Regions from separate parts of the Homo sapiens genome. Here region 1 is linked to region 2. Evidence: promoter capture Hi-C in 16 types of primary human blood cells and fetal thymus (Javierre and others, 2016). All regions are on one chromosome and are shown on one strand. Each heading gives the region's core, a stretch centred on a gene start or on the middle of the fragment in contact. The rest is flanking DNA. Distances are from core to core; before and after follow the strand shown.

Region 1 (7,163 bases), core at 3,092-5,591, 190 kb before region 2:
ACTTTCAGTTACCTGCACTGGCACCTTCAAAATTAAAATGAAGGTAGAACACATGGAACAGCATTTCTGTGGCCAGAATCAAGTGGAAAAAAGATGCAAGTGCTGCTTGATGAAACAATCTGCCTGAAGACTTTGGTAAAATGTACTCAGGGCCAGCTGCAGCGGCTCACGCTTGTAATCCCAGCGCGTGGGGAAGCTGAGGGGGGAGGATTGCTTGAGCTCAGGAGTTTGAGACCAACATAGTGAGACCCCGTCTCTACAGAAAATACAAAACTAGCCAGGCCCGGTGGCTCCTGCCTGTGGTCCCAGCTACTCAGGAGGCTGAGGTGGGAGGATCATTTGAGTCCAGGAGTTTGAGGTTGCAGGGAGCCATGATTGTGCCACTGCATTCCAGCCTGGGAGACAGAGCAAGACCCGATCTCAAAAAAAAAAAAAAAAAAAAGTATTCAAAGAATGATTACCCATGACATCCAAAACATGAAATGTCATTCCTCACCCAGGAGTTGAGTGTTGACACTAGTACAGCTATTCTGGGTTAATTTCACAGTGATAACAGATTAAAAAACAAGTTATTGGCCGGGCGCGGTGGCTCATGCCTGTAATCCCAGCACTTTGGGAGGCCGAGGCAGGCAGATCACCTGAGATCGGGAGTTCGAGACCAGCCTGACCAACATGGAGAAACTCCATCTCTACTAAAAACACAAAATTAGCCAGGCATGATGGTGCATGCCTGTAATCCCAGCTACTCAGGAGGCTGAGGCAGTAGAATAGCTTGACCCCAGGAGGCAGAGGTTGTGGTGAGCCGAGATCGCACCATTGCACTCCAGCCTAGGCAACAAGAGTGAAACTCCGTCTCAAAAACAAACAAACATTTTTTTTGTAGACGCGGGGTCTCACTATGTTGTTCAAGCTGGTCTCGAACTCCTGGGTTCAAGTGATCTAGCTGCCTTGGCCTCCCAAAGTGCCGTGACTACAGGTGTGAGCCACCGCATCCAGCCATAATTTTAAAATATATCCTTTCCAGCCCCATTGCTAGAGTACTTTAAAACTGGTGACTGTAGGCCAGGCATGGTGGCTTATGCCTATAATTCCAGCACTTTGGGAGGTCGAGGCAGGTGGATCACATAAGGCTGGGAGTTTGAGACCAGCCTGGCCAACATGGCAAAACCGCATCTCCCAAAAAAATAAAATAAAACAAAACAAAAAAAACCTGGTAACTGTTGAAAAAAACAGAAAAGCACCCAGATAGGGAACTCAATACTGGCTTCTATGAGGCACAGAGGTTCCTTGGAGAATAACTGAGTCTGTGTCTTAAGCAGAGAACATTCAGGTAGACCCCAAACATCTCTCCTCTCAATGGAAAAGATGCTTCCAAAGGCTCTTGAGCAGTGCCCAAAGTTCAGAGGAGGAGATGAAAGGGTGCCCATGCGTCGGGTTGTGGTACTAGGACCTCAAGCAGAAACAAAAGTTATAGTTCATTAAAACACATTGAGGCTGTAAAAGCAATCACTCCAATATGAACTGCATAAGAAAAACTAAAATTCTTTTTACTTCAAATATTTAGTGCCACCTAATCTAGTTAATTTAGTAAGAAAAAATATTAGTCACATGAATGCATGTAGCTAGACATCCTTAGACCAGTAGAGAAGACTGAGAATCCCTGTGTAACCTGGTGTGAGGAGAGCGGCATTTTCTTTTTTTTATTTGAGACGGTCTCACTCTGTCACCCAAGCTGGAATGCAATAGCATGATGTTGGCTCACTGCAACCTCCACCTCCTGGGTTCAAGCGATTCTCATGCCTCAGCCTCCTGAGTTGGTGGGATTACGTGGGTGTGCCACCACACCCAGCTAATTTTTGTTTGTTTGTTTGTTTGTTTTTTTAGTAGACATGGGGTTTCACCATGTTGGCCAGGCTGGTCTTGAATGCCTGACCTCAGGTGATCGCCCTGCTTTGGCCTCCCAAAGTGCTGAGATTACAGGCGTGAGCCACCACACCCAGCCAAGAGTGGCATTTTCTAACTCCAAACACAACACAAGAAAAGACTGTTAAATTTGAAGACATAAAAAGAATATTTGCATGGCAAACACCCATCATAAACCTCATATACAAAGTCAAATGACAAACTGGAAAAAAAGCAATCTGCAACAATCTATTATAAAGGATTATTTTTCCTAACATATAAAGAACATTAGGCTGGGCGCAGAGGCGCATTTCCGTAATCCCAGTATTTTGGGAGACTGAGGCAGGTGAATCACTTGAGCCCCGGAGTTAGAGACCAGCCTGGGCAACATGGCGAAACTGTGTCTCTCCTAAAAAGGTGGTGCACGCCTGCAGTTTCACCTGCTTGGGAGGCTGAGATGGGAGGATGGTTTGAGCCTGAGAGGCAGAGGTTGCAGTGAGCCAAGATCATGCCACTGCGCTCCAGCCTGGGCGACAGAGTGAGACCCTGTCTCAAAAAAGAAAAACTGTGGCCGGGCATGGTGGCTCACACCTGTAATCCCAGCACTTTGGGAGGCTGAAGTGGGCAGATCACTTGAGGTCAGGAGTTTGAGACCAGCCTGGCCAACATGGTGAAACCTTGTCTCTACTAAAAATACAAAAATTATCCAGACATGGTGGTGTGCATCTGTGGTCCCGGCTACGCAGGAGGCTGAGGCAGGATAACCGCCTGACCCTGGGAGGCAGAGGTTGCACTGAGCTGAGATCAACCCACTGCACTCCAGCCTGGGTGACAGAGTGAGACTCTGTCTCAAAAACAAAAACAAAAACAAAACAAAAACCAAAAAAAAAAAAAAACAAAAAAAAAAAAGAAAAAAAACAACAAAAAAAGAAAAATTGCTAAGAGAGTAGATTGTAAGTGTTCTTACCAGGAATAAGTATGTGAGATAATGCATATGTTAATTAGCTTGATTTAGCCATTCCACAATGTATTTGTATTCCAAAAGATCATGTTAGGCCGGGCGTGGTGGCTTCCACCTGTAATCCCAGCACTTTGGGAGGCTGAGACAGGTGGATCACTTGAGGTCAGGAGTTTGAGACCAGCCTGGCCAACACAGTGAAAACCCATCTCTACTAAAAATACAAAAAGTAGGCCGGGCACGGTGGCTCATGCCTGTAATCCCAGCAATTTGGGAGGCCGAGGTGGGTGGATCACGAGGCCAGGAGTTCAAGACCAGCTTGACCAAGATGGTGAAACCTCATCTCTACTACAAATACAAAAAAAGAAATAGCTGGGCATTGTGGCATGCGCCTATAATACCAGCTATTCAGGAGGCTGAGGCAGAGAATTTCTTAAACCCAGGAGGTGGAGGTTGCAGTGAGCCATGATCATGCCACTGCACTCCAGCCCGGGCGACAGAGCAAGACTCTGTCTCAAAAAGAAAAAAAAACCAAAAACCAAAAAACAAAAATTAGCCATGCATGGTGGTGCTCGCCTGTAGTCCCAGCTACTCAGGAGACTGAGGCAGGAGAATCACTTGAACCCGGGAGGCGGAAGTTGCAGTGAGCTGAGATCACACCACCGCACTCCAGCCTGGGCGACAGAGCAAGCTTCCATCTTAAAAAAAAAAAAAAATCATGTTATATATCACAAATATATTCAATTGCATTTGTCAAGTTAAATAAATAAAGAACCAAAAAAAAAAAAAAAGTCAGGGAAATGAAGGTCAAAAGTGCAATAGAAAATGGACAAAAGACATGGACAGACGGTTCACAGAAATAGACACAAATCATTTATATATGTATATGTGGACATTTGCTCAAATTCACTGATAAATAAATGAGATGCAAATCAGAACTATACCAAGATACTATTTCTGACCCATGAAATTGGCACAAATTCACGAATTCAGCCTGGTACACTCTGTGGCGGGGCATGCGGATCAGACCCCTCTCACACTTTGGTGGAGTGAAGATGGTAAAAGTACCAGGGAGACGATTGGCCATATTTAGTAAAACCACGCGTCCCAAACGGCAAGGACTCCTGCGTATCCAGTTACTCTTTGGTGTGACATCTGGAAATATAACTTCCTCTAGAAGTTTACCCTGAAAATCCAGCTCTGCAAAGGTGAAAGTCTTGCACATTATTCTTTGCAGATAAAGCAAGGTGTGACCTTTTATGTAACAAAAAAGGGAAGGACAAACTATGTATATACAAGTGTGTTATTTGCTTCGAAAGACGGGAAAGGTAATCCAGAAATTAATGAAAGGAAGGACCAACAAAGGAAGGTGGAAATGGGTTGTAAGTTATAGACTTACAAGAGGTGAGACTTCTCTGAGTCTACCTTTTCATATTGTTTAGACTTCATTTTTGTTTGTTTGTTTTGTTTTTGAGACAGTTACGCTCTGTCGCCCAGGATGGAGTGCAGTGGCATGATCACGGCTCACTGCAACCTTGACCTTCCAGGCTCACGTGATCCTCCTACCTCAGCCTCCCGAGTAGGTGGCACTACGGGCACGCACCACCATGCCCGGCTAATTTTTGTATTTTTTACAGAGACGGGATTTTGCTATGTTGCTCAGGCTGATCTTGAACTCCTAGGCTCAAGTGATCTTCTGGCCTTGGCCTCCTAAAGTGCTGGGATTATAGGTGTGAGCCACCATGCCTGGCCTGGCCTTCATATTTTTTTAAAAAAGTAAAAAGGAAAGAAAAGGCAAACCTTAAAATTGAATACAGACACAGATGAAACTATCAAAAGAAGCAATCTGAGTGACCTTTGATCAAGTCCCTGACCGCAGGCCTGCAAAGGGATACGTCCCAGGAGAGAGTATACAGGCCGGCCTCCTGGGGCTGAGGCTCCCCGCTGGTCCAGGCCACTGTGAGGCCCACTGGAAGGAGCAGGCACTCTCGGGGAACACAGGCTGAGCGTGCCCACCTAGGCAGTGTGTCCTTCGAGGAGGAAGAGGAGCCAGGACCAACACATCAGTAGCTTCTACGGGGGCGCTGTGGACACTCAGCTCCACTGCCAGCCCTGGCCCTGCAGCTCCCGGTGGGCACACAGTTCAGCTGGCTGCCCCATGCCCAGCTGCCCTGCATGGCACCCACCTGCTCCTTCTGCTGCTCCACCCTCTGCTTGTTCTCCTGCATGAGGCTCTGCCGGGCTAGGACGGCCTCCTCATGGCTAAGCTTCCCTTGCAACCGCCGGCACTCGCTTGCAGCCAGCTGCTCCTCCCGGTCCTTCGCCTGCATCTTCTTCTGCCACTCGAAGAACTCAGAGAAGTCCCCAGCCCCATCCACGAGCTTATCAACCCTGGGCAAAGAGGGACAGAAGCACAGCTTGGGGTTTCTCCCGTGACAGAGGCTGCTGGGTGGTCACAGGTTTTCCTGAGGGACAGTGGCTGCGCAGGCGTGGGCTGCTACTCCTGACACCCAGCTGCGTGGCCTGCCCTTCCTCCTATCCCCGACCCACTGTCCACCCATCCCCTGGTCCCCCTTTCTGTGCGTCCACCCATCAGCCCCATCCACCCACCCCTCCCTTCATCCACTTGTTTGTCTACCCTCACTCTGTCCAACTGTCTGTCCATCCACCAACCCTGTGTCCATCATCTGTCCATCCATCAACCTTCTGTCCTCTGCTAGCCTGGCCACCCTTGCCCCTGTGCACCATCTGTGCGTCCACTCCACCATCTGGTCAGACACCCATGCTCCCCCCACAGCCTGACTTGCAGACAAGGAAAGACACGACCACACCGCATGGGGTAAGCACAGGGGTTTGCAGCCCTGGTGGTCTAGGAGATGGGGGCATCAGGAAGGGGTCCAGGGAGGAGGTAACCCCAAGGGAGGTTTGGTGTGGGTTGGGCCTTTGCTAAGTCCCTCCAGCCCCATTCATGCCCCTCACTGAGCCGGCATGATCTTTGTAAGATGCACCTGGGACCCTGACACAGTCCTGCTTGTCGCCCCTGTTGCTGCAGGACCACAGCCTGTTGTGACCCCCGAGTCCCTCTCCACTGAGCTGCCCAGCCCCCAGGCCCCTCCTCTGAGCCTTTCCTCTCAAGGGTGATGCCGTGGAAGGCAGGTGGGGGGGCCTGCCGCCCTTCACCTCTGCAGCTCCTGCTCCACCTGCCGCTGGTACAAGGCCCCTTCTCGCAGGATGGCTGTGGTGTTCAGCTTGACCAGGATGTTGTCAGGCTGCGGGATTGGGGACTGGCTGTGGTGGGGGCTTGAGGAGACCCTTGGGAGCAGCAAATGCCCATCCTGCCCTCATGCCCGTCACACCTGCCCCCTGCCCAGGTGCTTCCCTATCCCCCAGGGTGGGGCCGTCCTTGGGACTCTAGGTCCCCCAGCTCAGGTCATCTGAGCCTCTACGGGCAGAAAAGGTCTGGAGGGGTGGGTGCCCAGGGAGAGCAGCCTGACCATCCAGGAGCACCCCTCACCCTATAGAAGGTCAGCTTCGGAGTCTTTCGGATTCGGGGTGGGAACTGAAGCCGCAGCTGCTGCTTGGAGCCCTGCAGGAGTCAGGGCAGAGCTGGCCGCCTGGCACCTGTGCCTGCTGGGTGCCCCCAAACACATACCAGGTGGATGCTGGCCCAGCACCCTGGGGAGGCCTGGCTCACCCCTCTTCATCCTCCCCCCAGCTGCCCATCCCTACCACCACGCCAGGTCAGGGTCTCTATCTTCCAATGCCCCCCAAGCCTTGCTGTGGTTCCACCCAGGCTGGAACAGGGAGGGTGCAGGGCCTGTGGGCCTGGGAACAGTGCTTCCCAGTCAGGACAACTTGGCCTCAGGGCTCAGTGGCCCTCTCCTCAGCCACCCCCAGAGCTGGGGTCTGGCTGGCCCCCATGGCCTCTCCCCGAGCCTGTCTGCTCCCGGCCCAGCCGCCAGCTGCTTTGCCAACACATCCCAGGGTGGGCACCGCAAGCTGCAGTGAGGGGAGTGGCTGCAAAGGCCACCCCTCTGAGCACTCGGTCATTGCAGCCCCGCGGCATGCACCATATGGGCTGCCCAGCCCGGGCCTGCCCTCATGGTGGGACCCTTGCCACCCAGCGGGGCCGTGCTCCTGAGTGAGCCCCGCCAGGCACAGTCTCTCCTGTCGTCATTACCTTGCTTTTTCTTTATTGGCAAACATACCTGGGTTTGTTTTTTCCTTACAGAGACATGAAATGCTTGTCACGGAACATCTGGAGATACCCAGAGGCAGCACCTGCAGGTGCTTTCCCGTGAGC
Region 2 (7,232 bases), core at 4,034-6,533:
AAGTCTGGACAGAGACCCCAGCGCGGCCGACCCGGTAGCCAGGCCCTAGTCCTCAGGGTCCTACACCTGGGAGGAAGATCCAGAGAGGCCCTAGCTGGTACAGCAATGACCAAGGGCAGGACAGACCATGCCCCCAGTGTTCCTGGTTGGAGCCGGACGCCTGTACCACCAGGGCTAGGCGGGGAGCTGGCAGAACCCTGGGGAGGCAGCTTTATGGCATCTGTGCACTGATGCCTCCCTCCACCAGCACCCAGCCACTGCTCTTCCCACCCTCTGGACTCTGCAGTGGGAGCTCAGGGGAGGCAGGCAGGCCTCAAAGTGCCCGCCCACACTACCCCCATGCCCCAGAGTCCTGGAGGTGCTCCCAGGCCCCATAGACCCACCTCCTCCAGGAAGCCTTCCCAGATAGCAGCACCCCTACCATTCACGAGAGGAGGACCTGCTCTTCTACCCCAGGCCTCAGGGAAGAAAGGGGGTCCCGGAACAGCAGCAGGGCCAGGCAGGGCCTGTCCAGCTTCAGAGGTCCTGGCCCTCCGAATTTTAAAGGCCACCCCCAGACACCACAGCAAGTGCCTTGAATCTGCAGCCACGGCCTCTTTCATAAACTTGTTTTTCTCTTGTAAAAGTGTTTGAAAGGAAAATTTCCTCTTTTGCTTTTGGACATTTTGGGCCATAGGAAATTCATTTAACTTATAGTTGTCTGAGTTGTCTGGGGGTCTTCTGCATGCTGGGAAAACCTTTTAAAGTGAGAAAAAAAATCTACCCCACCAATTGTTCACAAATAGAATTATCTGATTTTAAATTTAAAAATAACGCTGACATTATGTTTGGTTATATAAACATTTAATTACATCTCCATGCATTTTGATTGTGCCGTCTTCTTTTCGTATTCTGGAGACAGTGTTTTCCTGAGTGTCAAACTTTTTGGAAGGCCCCCAAGAGGCCTGGCCTGGGGCCCGTGGCTGGCCAGCCGGGCAGCCAAAGCTCCACCCAGGTTCTCAGCGAGACTCTGCTACTGACCGGCTGAGACTGGGCAGGCCCTGTCTCTCCTAAGCCCTGTCTCTCTGTGGGCAGGGCCGAGGGGTTGGAGGCTCTTGCTGATTTGGAGCTGATGTTCACATTCCTGGCACTTCCTGGGCACCCCTTAGTGCCCAGCCCACTGCTGTGCAGGGCTTTGCATGCATCCTTCATGACACACCCCAACCACCCAAGAGGCAAGTACTGTCACCCCCGATTTTACAGCCCAGGAAACAGGCCCAGGGAAGCTGACAGGACTAGAATCCAGGGTGGCTTCAAGGAGAGGCACCATAGGGACTCCCCCTGGTGCCGGGACACAACCAGGCCTCTTGGTGCAGGGGAGCCAAGGCCTCGGGGGACTGGGTGCGTGCTGAGCTGGTCACAGCTCTCCAGCCCTGACCCGGGCCACCCCACTGACCTAGAACCTGCCACCCCTCAGGGCTGTGGAGATGGGGACTGTGCTGCAGGATTCTGACGGAGTGGAGGCAGGGCAGCCTCCCGCCCTGAATGCTGGTGCAGGGGACCTGGGGGCTGCTGGCAGCCCACCCAGTGACAGGAGGCCCAAGGTGGGAGGGGCAGGGTGTCAGTGGCCAAGTTTGGGGATCAGGGCCTGGTCAGCCTGGAAGTGTGGGAAAGAGGCTCTGCAGCTGCCGGGGCCTCACCAACCTTCCCTCCCTGGGTGTGTGAGGGGTGCTCCCTGAGGCTCTGCCGAGACTCAGATACCCCGAGAAGTCATGTGTGTGTGGTGGCCATGAGGAGTTTGTGGATCCTGAGTCCAGTGAAAGGAAGTTGGGGCCCAGTGGGCGCAGGAAGGCCAGGAAGCTGTCTTCTGGAGGTCTCTTTGGGGCTGGCCTTAGATACTCTCACAGATCCTGCGGGTGGGGAGTCAGCCCAGTAGCCTTTCCCAAGCCAAACCAGGAATCCTTTATTCCTATTCCGTCCTCCATATGTCCCAAGAGGCAGCACTGCCAGCCCCGTTCACAGCCAGGGAAGCTGAGGCTGTGGCAGATGGGGCAAGATAACTCAGGAAATCCAGGCAGCGGAAGACAAGCCTGCCGTGGCCTTCCACCCAAAACCGGGGAAGCCCTTCTGCATGCAGGCCCTGTCCCTTCCCTGGGAGCCCCTGCCTGGGGTGGGCTGGGGAGGGCCGTCGTGAGGGAAAGGAGACAGAGGGCGAACAACCCAAGGAGAATGTAAGGCTGGGTGGGGCTCAGAGGATGGGGCAGGAATGAGATGCACCCTGGGGGTCCCAGAGTGGCATAGAGAGGTCCTCCCAGAGTAGGGTGGGGGGACTGGGCTCCCCAGGGAAGGAGGCTGGAGATGTCTGCCCCCTCCCTCCTAGCTTTCATTGGTGCCCATTGGACAGGTCCTGGCTCTGGGGAAGGGCAGGGCAGGGCTGGGCAGGAGCTTGTGCCCATGGAAAGCTCCCTGGAGATGCCACACCCTGCGGGGGACCTGCCCTACAGAAGGGGACATGGCCCATGCCCTGCAGGGCTTGGGTCCAACTGGCTGACCTGAGCCACGTCCTCCCCACTCCTCAACCACCCCTGAGACTCCATGGGCACTGGTGCCTGCCGGCACTGACCCAAGATGCCTCTGCCCATCTTGGGAAGGACAAGTTGAGACCCGTGGGTGTAGAGACCCTGCCAACTGCAGGTGGGACCAGTGCCCCTATCCCCCAGGGGCTCCAGACCTCTCCTGGCAGGGCTCCAGGCCCACCTGCAGCCATCTGGGCCAGGCCAACATCACCTCCAGGCCTCTCCTGGCTGCTCCCTCCCCTTCCCTCTCCTCCTGCCATTGCTGGCCGATGCCTCCAGTACCTCCCTCCCTAGCTGCAGCTCAGCCCTCAGTCATCCATCGCCTCCTGCAGCTTCTCCTCCCAACCCCAACTCCTTCCTGCTCCCCCAGGCAGTGGTGCCCACACTACCAGGCAAGGTTTGAGCCCAGGGACACCAGGGAAGTGCTTGGTCCTCAGTGTGGTGGGGAGGTGAGGGTGAGTCCTTAAATGGCCTAAATTGAGGCTAAAAATCTCTTAGACTGGGGTAGCATGCAGGTGCCTCCCCATAGACACACCTGCGCACCTGTGCTGCCCACTGCCACACAGAACAAATCTCTTGGCCCATGGCAGGAAGGGGGCGTGCACTATGCCCAGCAGGTGCACTTGTACTAGGCCAGGTGTCCGCTTTAGCTGTCGGCAGCAACTCACCCAGTGGCCAAAGCAGGGATGGGGCAACTTTGCAAAATGCTCATCCCCAAGTGGAGAGCTGGGTCCCCAGAGCCCAAACACACCCTGCTCCTCCCCAGACTTGGGCACCTTTCTTTACCATGCACAGCTCTGAGCAGCCATGCAGACAAACCTGGAGGGCCTCAGTGCTGAGTTCTTGTGAGGGGCTCTGCCTTGGGCCCTGGCGTCACTGTGGGGCGGGAACAGGAAGGGCCCCTGCTAACATCAAGGGGGTTGTCTCAATGTCCATGCAGGGCTGTCTCATAGCAGTGTCCGAGTTCCCCACTGGGTCCTGCAGGGCTCTGTGGGAACACACATTATTCTGAAGCCCACACCACAGGCTTACACCCAGCAGGACCAGCCAGGCCAGGAGGCTCTGGCCTCTGCATTCCTATAGCCCTGAGCCGTGTGTGGCAGCACTAATCTCCATTCTGCTGAGATTTCTGGGAGACCCCAGCAAATCCCTGAGCGTCTAGTCCCATGTCCTGATCTGCAAGCCGGGCATGCAAAACACAGGGAGATGCACACGAAGCTTTCACAGGAGTCCTGGTGCTGAGGTTTTGCATTTTTTGTTCAGTTTCATTGCCAGCAGCAGCCCCTGTGTCCCACTGAGTACTTCTGGAGGGGTCCAGCCACCTTATGCCTCCACACTCTCCAGCCTGCGGGGCCTGGCCCTTGGCACATCCAGGCCACCAACCTCAAAAATCAAATCAGTGAGATGGGTCGGGCGAGGTGGCTCACACCTGTAATCCCAGAACTTTGGGAGGCCGAGGCGGGCGGATCACGAGGTCAGGAGATCCAGACCATCCATGGTGAAACCCCATCTCTACTAAAAATACAAAAATTAGCTGGGCGTGGTGGCACGCGCCTGTAGTCCCAGCTACTTGGGAGGCTGAGGCAGGGGAATCGCTTGAACCCGGGAGGCGGAGGTTGCAGTGAACTGACATCACGCCACTGCATTCCAGCCTGGGCAACAGAGCCGTCTCAAAAAAAAAAAAAAAAAAAATCTGCGAGAGGGTGGGGGGTGCCGAGGCCAGTCTGGGCCAGCCTTAGGGTCAGGGGTCACTAGGGAGACCCGCCAGCTGGGATTTGATGAAGGGTTCACTCCCGTCCCCACTTAGGGCGTCCTCGGCCAGAGGTGGCCAGCGCCTGCCTCTAGGAACGTCCCTGCCCCTCAGGCCAGACACAGAGCATGCAGCCCCCCACTCCGGGGAGCCTCTCGACTCTGGCCGCACGTCTGTGTCCCTTCCCCAGACCTGGGCCCTCCCTCAGCTCCGGCGTCCACTGGGCGATCTGAGGAGCCCGCCCGCTCTGGGCCTGTTTCCCCACTGACACCCTCAGAGACGCCTGGCTCTTAGGATCAGAGCGTCTGCGTCCCTCTCCGAGGTCCCGGCCCTTCCCGGGGCCACTCTGCGCCCGGCGGGGAGGGGAGTCGTTCACGGCCCCACGCAAGACCCCCGGGCAGAGCGCGAGGCCTCGTCCCCCCACGCAGCCACTGCTTTCGTCGCGCTCAGACCCGGCGGCCCGGCCCGGCCCGGCGCACGCCCCGGAGCGCCCTGCTTCGCTCTCGTAGCGGAGACGCTCCTGCGTCCTAACGGGCCCCCAGGACGGCGGGCGGTCCCCGCGCGCTGCGCTTCCTCTCGGCAACGCGTCCGGCTGCGGCGCCCTCATTGGCCGCGCGCCCCGCCACCGGCCATTGGCTCGCAGTGCCTGTTTTACATAGGCCGCTCTGGCCAATCGGCGCGCGGCGCCTACTTAACATGCACGGCGGCCGCCAGTCAGCTAGCGCGGGGGCCGGGCCACCACGTGCTGTTGCTAAGCTCGGGCTTCTAAATTGTTACTAGCGCGGCCGGCCTATCCCAGCCCAGCTCTGCATCTGTCAACATTCTCGGCCCGGCCCGAGGCGCTCGACCCGTCCCCATTGGCCCCAGCCCGGCCCGGCGCCCGCCCCCGGGGCGCGAACGCCGCCTCCCATTGGCTCTGCGGGCCGCCGCTCTCCCTTATGTGTCAATTTGAGGGCCTGAGGCGGAGGGTGGCGGCCGAGCGCCGGAGTCCGCGGAGTCTGGAAGTGCGGCGGCCGGGCGCGCGGGGTGGGCGGCGAGCGGAGCCGGCCGGAGCGGGCCGGGCAGCGGCCGCCGCCGTCCCGGGGCGGACGGGCGCGGGCGGGAGGATGGAGCTGAACTCCCTGCTGATCCTGCTGGAGGCGGCCGAGTACCTGGAGCGCAGGGATCGAGGTAGCGCTCGCACCCCATTGTGCGCCCGCGGCGGTGGGCGGGCGGCGGGGCCGTGCCGGGCGGGGGCCGCTGACCGCGCCGTGTGTCCGCAGAGGCCGAGCACGGCTACGCCTCGGTGCTGCCCTTCGACGGCGACTTCGCCAGGGAGAAAACAAAGGCGGCCGGCCTGGTGCGCAAGGCCCCGAACAACAGGTACCGCCCCCCGCTCCCGACCCCGCCCGGCCCGGTCCGAACCCCCGCCCCCGCCCGGAGCGTGCTCTCCGGGCCCCGATTCCCGGCCCGCGGCCCTCAGCGCCGCCGCCGCGCGCCCCGGCGGCCAGCCTGGAGGAGGAGGCGCGCAGGCCGCGGCCGCAGCCCCGCCCGGCCGGCCCCGCCCTCGCCGTCGCCATCTTCCCGCGGCCGCGCCTCCCGGGCCGCTCGCGTAAACAGTGCCACGCGTACAGCGCCCGCCGCCGGGGTCCGCTCCCGCGCCCGCTCCCCGCCCCCGAGTTGTTCTGGACTTTTCCAGGCGGTAGAAAAGTTGTCAGCGGGCGCTGGCCGGTGCCCCGTGGGTCTGGGGAAACAGGCTCAGCCAGGGTCTGCGGGGGCTGCCGGCCCTAACCCCTTCTCTCCGCGGGTGGGTGGGCGGCCTCCTTTCGACTGGCTCTGCCAGCCGAACTCTGCTGCTCGGCCACCTTCCCCCGCCCCCAGGAGCCTAGACAGAGAAGCGAGTGGAGGCGCTGTCCTGGGCCCTCACTCCTCCCAGGGTGCCCACCGCTTCTGCCCAGCCTCCTGACACAGCGAAACTCCAGCCACCAGTATGGGGGTCCTCTTTTTTAAGACAGAGGCCTTTTAAGGGGGCGGGAGGAGGGGGCAGGCTGCAGGGCAGGGGCCCCATGAAGTCGTTACTACGGGTGCCAGCTGCGCCCTCCATACCTTGACCTCGTGTTCAGGCAGCAGAAGCCCTGAAGCTGGGGTGCGTACAGGTCCCCCGCGTGGGGAGTGGGGACCCTGGGCCGGGGCTCCCCGGGGATTTCCACCCTCCTGGCTGCTGTGAGGACCATAGCACACCTGGTCCTGTCTGGGCCCACCTTGGCCCAGCCCTTTTGTGTGAGCAGGCTGGGAGCTGCGTTTGTAGGGGGCTTCAGAGCCCCAGGGCATGGCTCATTCCTGTGGTCCACCTGTTCTAGGGAATCCGAAAGGCTGGTGTAGGGACCCATTTCTGTGGCATCCTGAGCCAGGCGAGGAATTGGTTGAGTCTCCAGCTGCCCTGGCTGGGACCCGTCCCTGAGTCCCAGCCCCTGGTCCCCTACTGGGGACAGTTTGGGGAAGGACAGGAGTGTGACGAGGGAACCATTGCCTCAGGCCTCCTCAGTGAGCAAGCCCGGCCCCCGCTGCCGCTTCTCTCCAAACCAAGTCCCTGACCCGTGGAGAACTCTGGGGCGTGAGCTGGGGCTCCCCCAGCATGGAGAATCCAAAGCTGACAACCAGCGTCCTGGCCAAGGCTGCCCGAACACTGCCTCTATGCTGAGCGTTTCACACATGCAGCCAGTTCATCTTCACCCCAGGCTCAGAGAGGTGATGTGATTTTTATCTCTATGGCCAAGGAAACTGAGGCAAGGAGAGGTTTGGTTACTTGCCTGCCACTCACCCATCTCTGATGACGCCTGTTCCTGAGATGGGGTCCCAGCTGTCCACATTCTGCTGGGACAGAGACCATGGGGGCACTGGTGAGGGAGACAGAGGGCTCCCCAACTCTGGTGCATCTCCCCTGGCTC

The links. The method cuts DNA at HindIII sites, captures the fragments that hold promoters and counts their contacts. A CHiCAGO score of 5 or more calls a contact.
Region 1: a contact is called between a fragment that was not itself captured here and the fragment with the promoter of MXD4 in region 2, in 2 of 17 cell types (endothelial precursors and M1 macrophages). The highest score is 5.3, in endothelial precursors.

What each region holds. Positions count from the first base shown.
Region 1 is chr4:2,450,230-2,457,392 of GRCh38, reverse strand. CFAP99 (cilia and flagella associated protein 99) reads right to left here. Exons shown (of 16, transcript NM_001193282.4): 9 at 6,375-6,446; 10 at 6,041-6,129; 11 at 5,047-5,251. Among named protein-coding and RNA genes, the nearest start is that of RNF4, 15 kb to the left of the region's middle. The HindIII fragment of the contact is 1,576 bases long and covers 3,554-5,129 here.
Region 2 is chr4:2,260,160-2,267,391 of GRCh38, reverse strand. It overlaps MXD4 (MAX dimerization protein 4), which reads left to right and starts at 5,283. Exons shown (of 6, transcript NM_006454.3): 1 at 5,283-5,475; 2 at 5,568-5,667. The coding sequence starts at 5,412. RefSeq lists a cis regulatory region at 1-522, enhancers at 3,611-4,270, 4,271-4,932, 6,164-6,756 and silencers at 4,564-5,403, 5,454-5,513, 5,604-5,993, 6,004-6,063. The HindIII fragment of the contact is 4,464 bases long and covers 3,776-7,232 here.